Regions from separate parts of the Homo sapiens genome. Here regions 2, 3 and 4 are each linked to region 1. The links are contacts of gene promoters, found by promoter capture Hi-C in blood cells and fetal thymus (Javierre and others, 2016). All regions are on one chromosome and are shown on one strand. The core of a region is centred on a gene start or on the middle of the fragment in contact, and the rest is flanking DNA. Distances in the headings are between cores, read along the strand shown. Region 1 holds the start of RAD51B-AS1 (RAD51B antisense RNA 1). Region 2 has its middle 200 kb from the start of RAD51B-AS1. Region 3 has its middle 180 kb from the start of RAD51B-AS1. Region 4 overlaps LOC124903334 (a long non-coding RNA gene).

Evidence for each region. The method cuts DNA at HindIII sites, captures the fragments that hold promoters and counts their contacts. A CHiCAGO score of 5 or more calls a contact.
Region 2: a fragment that was not itself captured here is called in contact with the fragment with the promoter of RAD51B-AS1 in region 1 in 2 of 17 cell types (total B cells and non-activated CD4 T cells); the score reaches 6.3 in total B cells.
Region 3: a fragment that was not itself captured here is called in contact with the fragment with the promoter of RAD51B-AS1 in region 1 in 7 of 17 cell types (non-activated CD4 T cells, endothelial precursors, naive B cells and 4 more); the score reaches 10.7 in non-activated CD4 T cells.
Region 4: a contact is called between a fragment that was not itself captured here and the fragment with the promoter of RAD51B-AS1 in region 1, in 3 of 17 cell types (naive B cells, non-activated CD4 T cells and total B cells). The highest score is 7.4, in naive B cells.

The regions. Positions count from the first base shown.
Region 1 is chr14:68,683,807-68,686,822 of GRCh38, forward strand. It overlaps RAD51B-AS1 (RAD51B antisense RNA 1), which reads right to left and starts at 1,634. Exons shown (of 4, transcript XR_007064220.1): 1 at 1,565-1,634. RefSeq lists enhancers at 1-338, 1,922-1,971. The HindIII fragment of the contact is 3,133 bases long and covers 1-2,880 here.
Region 2 is chr14:68,479,966-68,482,981 of GRCh38, forward strand. It overlaps a transcript of RAD51B not described here. Among named protein-coding and RNA genes, the nearest start is that of RAD51B-AS1, 200 kb to the right of the region's middle. The HindIII fragment of the contact is 5,113 bases long and covers 1-3,016 here.
Region 3 is chr14:68,501,891-68,504,906 of GRCh38, forward strand. It overlaps a transcript of RAD51B not described here. Among named protein-coding and RNA genes, the nearest start is that of RAD51B-AS1, 180 kb to the right of the region's middle. The HindIII fragment of the contact is 1,397 bases long and covers 839-2,235 here.
Region 4 is chr14:68,521,316-68,524,331 of GRCh38, forward strand. LOC124903334 (a long non-coding RNA gene) reads right to left here. Exons shown (of 3, transcript XR_007064223.1): 2 at 1,300-3,016; 3 at 1-1,106. It also overlaps a transcript of RAD51B not described here. Among named protein-coding and RNA genes, the nearest start is that of RAD51B-AS1, 160 kb to the right of the region's middle. The HindIII fragment of the contact is 4,614 bases long and covers 1-3,016 here.

The DNA of each region.
Region 1 (3,016 bases), core at 384-2,883:
TTCTCAAGCCCAGTTCAGTCACTGCCTCTGTCCCATGCTCTTAGTCTCATGGCTCTCAGGAGCAGGACACAAGAGACGGTTATGCCCAAGCACAGAACACTCTTGGAAAGCCATCCTTTCCCTTCTGCTGACATTCTGACCCCCTCAAGGGTTGTCCATGGGGAACAGGCTTTCTGCACCCAATTGACCAAAAAATAACAGAAGCCTTCTCCTTAAGAAAGAGAGCAGGCCAGACACAGTGGCTCACGCCTATAATCCCAGTGCTTTGGGAGGCTGAGGTGGGAGAATTGCTTGAGCCCAGGAGTTCAAGACCAGCCTGGGCAACACAATGAGACCTCGTCTCTACAAAAAAACTTAAAAATTAGCCAGGCATGGTCTCAGCTACTCAGGAAGCTGAGGTGGGAGGATTGCTTGAGCCCAGGAGGCTGAGGCTGCAGTGAGCCGTGATCATGCCACTGCACTCCAACCTGGACAATAAAGCAAAAGATCCTGCCTCAAAAAAGAAGAAAGAGAACAGAGCCCTACAGAGAAGGAAGAAGGCAGGCACATTGTCACTTTTGCTCTCAAGCTCCCTGGATCTCTCCTAGAGGAGAGACCCCCAAACCTGCCTGCACTCCGCAGGAGCTGACTGGGGGAGGACCCTTTCCAGGGACACCTCCCTGGAGGTGCTCTAATATTTGGCTGCTTGGCCATTCTGGGCCAAGAAGACTCCTTCCCTAGCCCAGGACCATTAGTCTCCCTGATGATTGCTGCAGAAAGGCCCAATTTTCAGGGCCCTACCTAGCCCTTCAATACCTTTGAGCCACCCATCTTGTCTGAGCCAGAGTCCTAAAGCCAGTCCTGAGCTTCAAGACCCATGCTTGCCCTGGCCACTGCTTCCCCTGGGAGAGCTGCCTGGCTTCCTGCAGAGAGCTGGCCTGCAAGTTGGAAGGGCATATTCTCCTCCCGGCTCCCTGGCTAAATTGCTATAGAATTTCAGGTCACTCAAGTGAACTTTCTGTGACTATTTTTTCCTCCCTTCAAGATTTATCAACTATTAATTGGAGCCTCTAGATGCCTGCAATGTGGAGGTCCTGAGAATTCAATACAGAATAATACAAATGCAGTTCTTCCTGTGAAGCCTGGACAACCTTTCCCTTCCTTCCTTCCTTCTTTCCTTCCTTCCTTCCTTCCTTCCTTCCTTCCTTCCTTCTTTCTTGAGTTTCCTGATGCCAGCTCCTCAGATGGTGAGCCAGCGGTGGGAAGGTAGTGGTGGGGGTGATTATAAATACAATAAGAAATAAACCCACACACTGCAAAACTCCATGTTAATACTATTAATAGTATTTCCAAATTGCATACAGGTAGAAGACAGTTCCTTAGCAACATGATCGTAATGAGAATTCCACAAGGGCATCTGGAATTTACTCTGTCAGACATTCCAGCTTATCAGGAAATGAAAAGGACCAAGACTATCATATAATGTGCAAACTATGCTAATGCCTATCACTAGTGTATATCAGACCCCAGTTACAGGACTGACCCATGGGACTCCCCTTGTCTCAGCTTTAATCACATGAAGTACCTGAGGCCTGTTGTCCTCCTCGGGGCTCAATGCCTTCTTGCGGCCAGGTCCTTCGTATAATTCAAGAGTTGAAATCACTGTCAACACAGCCCTTTGACTAATGTTCCGGGGTGACAGGCCTGGCACGTGAACACATGAGTGATGCTATTATCCCCCAAATCACAGGTGAGTGAGGTCTCTGGAGATGTCCACCCCCACATGAATTTCCCTTTGTGGTAGCAGTAACATCTGAGTCACTAAGCATGGGGCCACAATTTAGGCTCACTCCCTCCCCTTCCTGTGCCCCAAAAGGGGGCTGAAGGCGGGTCCTCACAGCAGAAAAAGCTCCACTTCCTCCGAGCTCCAGACAGCACATCTCAGCTGTGTTGGGCCTTACAAGGCTGCGGTCAACAGGCACCCAGGTGATGAGGTCTTTCTCAGCCTGTTGTTCTCTTGTTAGCCCTTTGATGTTTCAAAGCTGACGAGGTCAGCATCTTCCAGGCTGCAGGAAACATGCCTGCCAGGTATACCTTTCAAGCAGCTGATTAATATGTCATGTGGTCTCTGGTCAGAGGAGAGTGTAAGGGCTGTTGAAATGACTCACCAGCTCAGCTCCCGTGTCTTTGGGAAACGCTACCCTGTCAGCAAGAGGCCTCCAGCTGAAAAGTAAAGACACAGATCTGAAAGGGTACAGTTCTAGCGTCCAACAAACTATTATACATCCTAAATGAAGTGAGAAATGGTAGGCTCTTCACCTGCCAGGGCCTGGCGGGGCCTGTGTCCCAGGACTGCTTAGGAATCCAAGCCTCGCACTGTTTATCCATTATACTGATGAGAAGCCTGTGAGACAGGGAGGCTTGCTGGGCCTCCAAAGTCCACTTGCTGGCTTGTTACTTGGCACCATCAGATCTACGCTAGGGATGGTGTAACTAGAGCCTTTGAGTGCATGAAAAGTCTGTGGCCTGACAAAGCACTTACTGACCAAGGAAAATCAACTTCAGGTGCAGCAGGAAAGGTCTGGTACCCAGAATGTCTGGGGTTTTGAGACACTGGAAAAGATTGCCTAATAATGTCATGGGCTCCCTTCCCTGGAAATAATCTGAAAATAGGATAAGTTCCCTCCAATCTTGGATGGGTCAACCTCGTCTTGAGGTAAGGAGACGGTTACATCAACCCATGGAGAGGGCCTGTCAGCAACTCTGAGTCTATTAGAGGGTATATTTTCAAACACAAAAAACTTTTTATCCTGGTAAAATATACCTAACGTAAAAGCTACCATTTTACCCATGTTTAAGTGTACAATTCAGTGGCATTAAGTACATTCACATCGTTGTATAAGCTTCCCCGTCATCTCTCTCCAGAACTTTTTCATCTTTCCAAACTGAAACTCTGTGCCCATTAAACACTGACTCCTCTTTCCCCTCCTCACAGCCCCTGGCAACTACCATTCTCCTTTTCATCTTTATGATTTTG
Region 2 (3,016 bases), core at 221-2,720, 200 kb before region 1:
CATGAGCCACCGCGCCCAGCCAGGTCTTCATTTCTAAAGGTTCTCATGTCACATAAAACTTACGTTAAATAAATTTTTATGCTTTTCTCTTGTAAATCTTGTTGTTGTTGCTGTTATTGTTGTTTGAGATGGAGTGTTGCTCTGTCACCCAGGTTGGAGTGCAGTGGCATGATCTTGGCCCACTGCAACCCCTGCCTCCCGGGTTCAAGCAATTCTCCTGCCTCAGCCTCCCATGTAGCCAGGATTACAGGCATGTGCCACCATGCCCGGTTAACTTTTGTACTTTTTTTTAGTAGAGATGAAGTTTCACCATGTTGGCCAGGCTGGTCTCGAACTCCTGTCCTCAGGAGATCTGCCCTCGTCGGCCTCCCAAAGTGCTGGGATTACAGGTGTGAGCCCGGCCTTCTCTTGTAAATCTGTCTTTTGTTATGGGGGCCTTGGCCATGAACCTTGCAATGCGTTCATGCAAGATATTACTTTTTCTCCCCTACAGTTTCTGGTGCCCAATATGGGGTGACTGAGACACCCCACTCATTCTGGATCTTGCAGATGAGATCCTGGGGCAACTGACAAAAAGCTGGAAAAATTAGAATTCTTATCAAAGTCAGCTCTCCCAGATCTCTGTCTGTAGTGCTTGGTCAAGAGAGACGTTAGAAATTTCTCCTTGTCCCTTCCTTCCCAAATTCAGATTATCAGGAAAAAAAAAAAAATGTCTATATTGTGACTCTCTGACTAAATCTGGCTTTAAGGTACTCGTTTGTTACTGATCCTTTCCCTCGCAGGGACTGCTGTCTCTTTCCTTGTTTTTCTCAATTTCTGTCCTGATAACTTGGTTTGATTTTCTCCCTGTTGGGGCATGCAAGCTGTCTTGAGTTCCCCAACCAACTTCAGGGGAGGGAACTCAAGAATACGGCTGGACAGAAATGTGGGTTGCACCCTATTTCCAGCTATCCTACCAAGTATTGCCAGCTCTTGGGGGGTTTATTTGTATATTTCTTTTGACTCTCTTTGGGGGTAGTTCTGGATTTGGGAGGGCTGCACTCTCTTTTGAGAACCCCTTCTTAGTCCATGGTGAAGTCATAAAAGGCTCTTTGGTTTTGGTTGAGTCACTTAGTAGGTACTTTCAGTTTAAAACAAGAAAAAGGTAAATGTATATGTTTTTCTCTTGTTAATCTGTGTTTTCTTGTAGTGCTCTCAGCCACGAACCTTGAGATAGGTGAGGAAAATATATTATTTTTCCTCCCTTACATTGAGCAAGATGCTGTCTGTTCTCTGCAACTCCTAATTGTTCTCTCTTCACCTCCATTGTCTGCCACGAAAAAAAAAATGCTACATTGTTCACACATTAAAATGGATCACTCAAAAGTGTCTGAAAAAAGCAAGAGGAAAACATATCCTAATTCCAAATGTCAAAAATTAAGTGGCTCCTCCTTGAGACTACCTTTTTGACCCCAAGAAACAATAAGAGAGTGCCCTATACCCAGTGTTTGACAAACCAATACAGTACTCTCCTGCCCAAGGCCCTCCAGGCCTTCACCACAAACCATGCTGCAGGGACAGGACGTAAGCACTGCCTCTGATATGGAGCACTTGCTGCGTGTCTGACACACACTTTACATACACAATCTTCTCTAATGCTTCCAGTAATCTTACAGGTAGAATTTTGTATTATTCCTTCTCTACAGATGAGGAACTGAAGCAGGAGAGGTTCAGTTTGTCACCAGAAAGGATGAAATGTGGATTTGAACTCAGGCAGTTCTACTCTCTTTTCTCTTTCATCCCTTGCCCTGTAATATTTCTGTTCACAACTCTTATTCATCCTAAGTTCACTAAAGTACTCAGCATAATACTACACACACAATAGTAAAGAACTCAGTGAATATTTTCTAAATAAAAGAATCACCAGGAACAATGCTAGTAGTTTGATCTTCTACTCTGAGCAGTGATGCTCAGAATATAGTAGAGGTTCCATCACTGCCTTATCATGTCACCATTTTTAAGGAGCAGAAGACATGCACAGGAAAGTTGCCCCAGGAAATGTTCACAAGAAAGAAGGACACAGGTAGCATTCTTCCCCGTGAGCTGATAATCTGCCAAGCTGGTACCACCCATGAGATTCTAGTGTGGCATTTTGTATCATTAATTACTTTTACTGAAAGTAATTACTTTTACTGAAAGTAATTAATGATGCAATTCAGAGATATTTTAGGGGTGTGTGTGTGTGTGTGTGTGTATGTGTGTGTGTATCAAAGTTCAACTTTGTCTCCCTAATCCTGCTAGCCTTCTGGCCATTCTATTAAGGTATTGCAGTCCTGGTGAAGATTCAGAAATGTGTGGTCCCCGTCAGCCTACAGGGTGAACATTTTGGATTAACCCAGAGAGCCTTGAACTCTGTGCATAATGTCTTTTAGGTTGTGTGTTGTGAACAAAGCAAAATGACTGCTCAGAGACAGGGTTGTAAAAGTTTGTCCAGCAAAACCAGGATTGCCAAATGAGAATTCTGGAAAGGGAGGATAAGGATTAGGTAATGGGAGAAAAGTGAGTGAAGGCAAGGAGAAGTGCAAAATATCTGATTCTAGCCTAAAAACTGGTCTTGGAACCATTTGGAAGGGTCATTTTTTCCATGTTTTATTTTCAATATCATCACCATCACTTTTATCCTGTGGCTGTGAAAGGACTTTCTTCATTCCACTCCAGAATTCAAAGAGGCTTCTTTTGCACAAATGGAGGGAAGGCACTCATCACACTTCTCAGCCAAACATCCTAAGTGTGAGAGAAAACACACTGCCTACTTCTGAATTTCGGTGAGGGCAGGGTTCAGATGGAACACATATTTTCCAAAACTCCAAATAGATCTGGGAGGAGAGGAAACCATTAAATCACTAGACATAAGTCAGGACACATTTGGTTTTGTTCCCTATCAAACAGTCCCCCCAAATCTCAGTGACTTGCAAAATCCATGCATGTCTGAGACTCTCCAGACAAGCTCTCCATGTGTGACTCAATATTGCACTTC
Region 3 (3,016 bases), core at 287-2,786, 180 kb before region 1:
ACTTGCCTTAGCCTTCAAAGGTAGAAAGGGCGGAGCCGAGTGTTCCTCTTCACAGACTTGCAGGCTCACACAGTCCTCTGCCCTGCCCAATGCCCAGATGCTGATTCGCCAGGTGCCTGGCTGCCACAGCCCGGTCACCTTTATCTGGGCTGGAAGGCCACGTCTGAGCCATCAAAGGAGCCTCAATGGGAGGGGACGTCAATGTGCTTCCTCAACCAGAAAGGTGGTTTGAGTTTGGCCAAAGCAGCCCAACCAAATAAGTAAAAGCCTGTCAATGGAAAGATGGGGGCTGCTGGGAGATCACACGACAACAGAATGAGAACCATTATCAGTCTCATCCCAGCCTGAAGGAGGGAGAGCCTTTGAAGCCACAGACAGGCTGAACAGAACTTTCCACCTGAGAGACGCTGGAGATGGGAGGTCAGGCTGCACTCAGCCCCTACGAAAACTGATCAAAGCCTGCTGCAGAAGGGAGGGGGGCGCACAGCTGCAGTTCCGACTCCCCCCACGGGCCGCCCGGGACTTTCTGAAGGCAACAGGGCTGCCTTTGCAGGGCCCTGTGGGAAAACCCAACACAGATGCACATTGCAGCCAAACCCCCAAGCACTGCTGGGAGAGGGAAAAATAAACCCCTCAATAGTCCTGAAAAGAAAAGGGAGGGAATCAAAGCACACAAAAAATGCAAAGACCACCCACCTGATGAGTGCCTACCTTTCGGAAACAAATAACTCCTGGCTTCCAAGGCGCACTTCTAAAAGAACAGACGGACTGAACACTGCCTCAAAGCTGCATGCACCAGGGGATTTGTGGGAAGCTGTGGCCCCTTCTAAGCATCGGAAGCTTAATTTAAAGTGTGTTGGCCTCTGCGGTGCCTATTCAAGGGCTCCCTTGCATCCGCTGTCCTCCCTGGGAACCTGGGAGACAAGAATCCTCATTTAGAAAAGGACAGGATCCTGTGTGGACTCCTTTATCGTGGTTCTCTCAGACAGGACAGCCATATCTGCCAGGGAACATTCTAGGGGGCATCTTTCAGGCTAGATCCAGGGTGATGTGGGCCCCTGCGAGGGCATCTTGGAAGGCTGTGTTGGTTCTGCCTGGACTGGTCCCTCTGGGACAGCCTCAGCCTACCCTGCCTGGCCTCACCCCTCCTCCCTCTGACCTGAAGCTCCTTTGGAGGACTGACACTTCATGGAGCCTGCAGTTTGATCTTTTCTGAAGTGGAGACAACAAAGCAAAGCCACTTCCACTGTGTGCTCTCTCAAAAGAATAGGAAAGCTCTTCTCTCCTCCTTGGGAATGGATTTGGAGGGAGGGTGGAGGGCGTAATGATGGGGAGGCCTTGGAGGTATTTTGGTGGAGGAGGGTGTGTGTGGAGGAAATGAGCCGCCCAGGAGCATGGGAGAAATTGACATGAGAACATTTCAGAAGCACTGGTTTAACCGGCTGACATTCTTTCCAAAATGGATGGACAAGCCTTTAGGAGTAGACAGAGGGCCTCAGGGAGGAGAAACAGCTGAGGAGGAGGCATCTCCCTTCCCCCTCCTCCAGAGGCTGATGCTACAGAGAAGGCGGCAAGGCCTCACTGAGCGCCTACCCACCACTCACTAGATTTCTATCTTTTTATTACCTTACCCTGGGAGATGAATGGGGTTATCTCCATTTTCCAGGTGACAAACAGAGATTCAGAGAGGTGACGAGAGGCTCTCCAAGGACCCATATGGAAGTGTCAGCTGGAATTCAACCCTCAGGCAGCCTGGCTCCAAAGTTCACAACCTTTCCTACTTGTTTCAGCCCTGCCCTGCCTTTCAGGGCTAAGAAGATGTTAGTAGATGTTCCATAAATATTTATTAAATTGAACTGAACTCAGCAGCTGAACACACGCAGGCCTCTTCCACCCTGACCAAGAGGAATCCTTTGAGGGTCTGCAGTATGGAAAGAAATTCTCTGAGGCGCTAAATAAAATCCTGCTCTGAGGTGCAAGGAGGACTTTTTTGAAATTAATAGCTAACAAAGTTTATGCAGACCCCAAAAGGAAAAACAGAAAGGAATTGGAATCATTTTAAAAACAGAGTCGGTAGATAATAAAACTTCACGGTGGTGGTGTTGTCTTTCATCAAGAAGCACGAAGTGCTCACAGGCTTTAATTACATCTTCATCCCTACGGCCCCTTCTGAAGTCGGTAGATGCACGTTAATAGTACCTTTCGTTTTAGGCATGGACACATTCCGGTACCAGAAGCTTTAGCAATTCTCCCCAAGGCAAGCAGAGTACAGAGCTGGATCGGGGCGCAATGACTCTCCAGGCCAGCATCCCATGCTACCTCCAGTTGTATTTCCTGACTCCGCAGCTGAAACCAAGGACTTCATTGACATATTTAGGGGTAGGGGGATCTGAAGGTCTAGGAAAGAAGGTGGGCAAAACCAAGGAATCAGGCCTCCACTTTGGCCTGCACACCATATAAATCCCCTCTTTGTTCACCCATATGCACATTCTTTAATTTAGGCATGGTTTCCATTTGTGTACATCAATGAGTTTGCTCAGTCACAAGGGTGCCGAAGCCTGAGCTGGACCACTCACTTTAGGTAATGCCACAGCAGACAATCAGTGCCTCTGATCATGAAGACTGGAGAAATGTGTCTGGGCTGGGCCCATGCATGATGCTTGGGAGGGAAACTCTCCCAGTGGACTCTGCGACTGGGATGTGGAAGCTCAGACAGCTAGAGATGGGAAAGGAAACTTAAATTGCAAAGGAGTAATCCTTTTTTTTTCTTTCTTTTTTTTTTTTTTTTTTTTTTTTTGCTAGTTCATTTTCAATCATTCATTTCCTGGCTTAAAAAATAATTAATAGTAATAATCGCATATGGCTTTTTAATGGCTCTCCATTGCCAAATACTATTTAAGCACAAATTTCTTCACTAGACACTGGAGCCCAATCTACACACTTGATGGTGTGGCTCCATCTGGGACCCCAGTCTCATTTCTTGTTCTTAATTTCTGTACAGTTATTCCTAATTTGT
Region 4 (3,016 bases), core at 194-2,693, 160 kb before region 1:
CCCTTCTCATGAGCCAGGCAGGCTGTCTGCAGGCCAGCCAGTGAATTGAACTGGGGCTCTCAGAGTCTGAACAGCTGGCCATGTCTTGGACAGTGCTTCATGACTCTAAGTTATTACTTTCTGTTCCTTTCCTAGTCCCTAACTCAGACCCAAGCTCTTTGCTCCCTGGAGTTTCTAAGTGTGTAGGTATTAGGAAGAGAGCAAATAAACCAGTTCACACAGATGTATGAATAATGTTTAACCAGCCAGTTCTCTTTGAGATATATTGTTGTAAAGAAGCAAAACTAAATGTCTAATCTGTGGAATTTCAGGCAACCTTATACGTTTCAGGTGGTGCCCTTGAGAGGGAAGACCTTTTGAGCTGGGGCTGCCACCCTGTTCCCTTCTAGCTTCCCTGCACTGTTCCTGCAGCAGCTTCTTTTCTTCCTCCATTTCTGAATCCCCAGAGTCTTGAAAACCTCCAGAATTTTCAGAGTGGTTCCTTTGGCACCAGTGGCCATGCATCTGACAATTACAGTAGCTAACATTTATATGTAATTGTTAGCCCCTCATATTAAACCTACATTAACCCTATGTTAAATGAAGTTAACCATAACATAGGGTTGCTGTGACTTCACAGCAAACTTCAGCCCTATGTTAACTGACTTCACAGCAACGCTATAAGGTTGGGTCGGTTACTCTTCTCTGGGTGAGGCTGTGGCTGGATGAGAGATGTTTGTTAGCTGCCTGTGGACACACAGCTGGCAGGCTGAAATTTGAAGCAGCGTCTTGCTCCCAGTCCACACTCAGGGCCGTGTGAGTGGGATGTGAGCCTGAGTCTGCCCTCCCTTGGGTTTGCTGTCCTGAGAGAACAAAAGCAAATCCGTGTTCTGGTTCTCTGAGATAGCTCTTACTAGACCTGGCTCAGTTTGACCCCTTTCTGCTGCTGGAAAGGAGGACAGTGCAGGTCAAAGCCCTGGTTGCTGATTACAGACAAGATGGGAGTCATGTGGGGTGTCAGCTTCTGTCTCCTGAGAGAGAAAACCGAAAAATGCTACCTGAATTTCCAGGATGAGGTTGAAGGCACAATCTTTTCAGGCCAAATCTCTTGGGCAGAATTGAAGAGACTGCAAAAAAAATATGGAAGTTACCCTCACCGTTTCTGGGATGTCTGAATTCCTCCCTCTCTGGAATGGAGCCGCTGGAAGGCTCCATAATCCTCCCTCTCCTGGCTCAGAGGCCCAGCTACACTTTCTAAAACAACCCAGAGCCATCTGATTTCAAGCATGTACCGGCTCGTGTGTGGAAGACAGTAATTACCTCCATTCCAGTTAGGAAAGCTGAAACCTGCCTTTTTCATGCCTCAAACAATTATCGAAGTGCCTTTTGAAGCTCTGGATAGAAGAGAAAAGCAAAACAAACCAAAGAGCCAATTAGAGCCTGGGATTTGAGGGTGGCTTAGTTTTGTGCAGTGGGACTTGGGAGGAACTGTGGGAGAGGGTCAGAGGTCACCCCAAACCTCCAGCTGCCAACCAACTTTGCCTGTGCCAAAAGAACATTATTTTGCATTGAAAATCAAGGCTCCTCTCCCTGACTCAGGAACAATTTGCAGGAACAACCTCTGCATCAGCTGTGAAGAGGGCTCCCTGATTAAATAAGGCCTGGAATGCATTTGATGTTGAACAAAACAGTTCTCTGACAGCTTTTCTTACTTGCCATTAGAATGCTTCCCCTTCAGCTGAAACTTGGTAAGATAAAGTGAATCCCCGGGGACCCTTTTGTTTTGGTGTACATATTTGAGGAATTTTTGTGGCCTGTGTTCCATTTGGAGTTAAGGTTCTTGGTCCCTGAAGTTCTTCCAGGCTTGGTGGTAGAAGCTGGCAATTCAGAGGCAGGCTGTGATGAGAGTAGAAAGCGGATACCAGGCATGAGGGCAGAGGAGAGCAAGTGGCCCTGCCCTGGGATGGGAAGCCTGAGGGCTTTTTTACAGTCCCCAAGGAGAGTTCCCTGACATTCAACACTGCCACAAGGCGCAGAGTGGAAAGTGGAGTTGGGGCATGGTGGGGTTGAAGCTGGATTAGAATGGACTTGGCCAAGATCTGTTCGTGATGTCTGGGGTGGCCTTTTGGATTAACAGGATTTGATTCACTGTGAAGGCAACGTAGCACTGTCTGGGAGGTTCCCTTTTGAGTTTGGGTGAGAATCAGGAAGACAGCCAGCACCAAAGAGCCCTGAGAGAACCCACTATGCCTTATTTACATCCCTAACCCAAACTGGATAGAGGAGCTTTCTCTTGGCCCTGGCATAAGTGCCCGGCTTTCCATCTGCCTATCATTTACCCCCTCAACAGTGGGCTTTGATGTCTACCCTCCACTACAAGAAAAAGCATTTGTAGGAATGCCTCTTGGTGTATGTGGGGGACTGCCCCTTAGTATAGGGAAAGTTGTCCTCCATACACAAAGGTTTTGTATCCTGCAAGTGCTGTATTTTCTATCTGTGTTTGGTTGAAAAAACAAAAACCTACATATAAGTAGACCCAGGCAGTTCAAGTCCATGTTGTTCAAGGGTCAAATGTATTCCTATAAAGCAAAACAAAGAAGCATATTGCTTAGGAATGTGTCTGTCGTGCTCAAAATGGAGTGAATATCAATGGTCTGGTGGCATCAAAATGGCCAGTTCTGTGACAGTAAAAGAGGTTTGTGTCTTATTTAATCTTTTGATAATAATAACAGCTATGGTGTATCACAGCTTTACCAAGTACCAGACACTGTTCTAAGGGCTTTGCATGGTTCACTCACTCCTTACGTCATCCCTCGGTGGCAGGTGCTGTAATTATCCTTATATTGCAGACAAGGACATTGAGACAGAGGTCAAGCCACCTTCCCAAGGGCACACATGGCATCTGCACTGCTCCTGACCGACCGACAGAGAGAGCTGCTGTCACGATCCTCAAATGAGCTATGCATGTCAAAAGTTTAAAAATAAAAAAGATAAAAACATGCACAAAATTTAAAAAGTAAACCATTTCAGGCTGGAC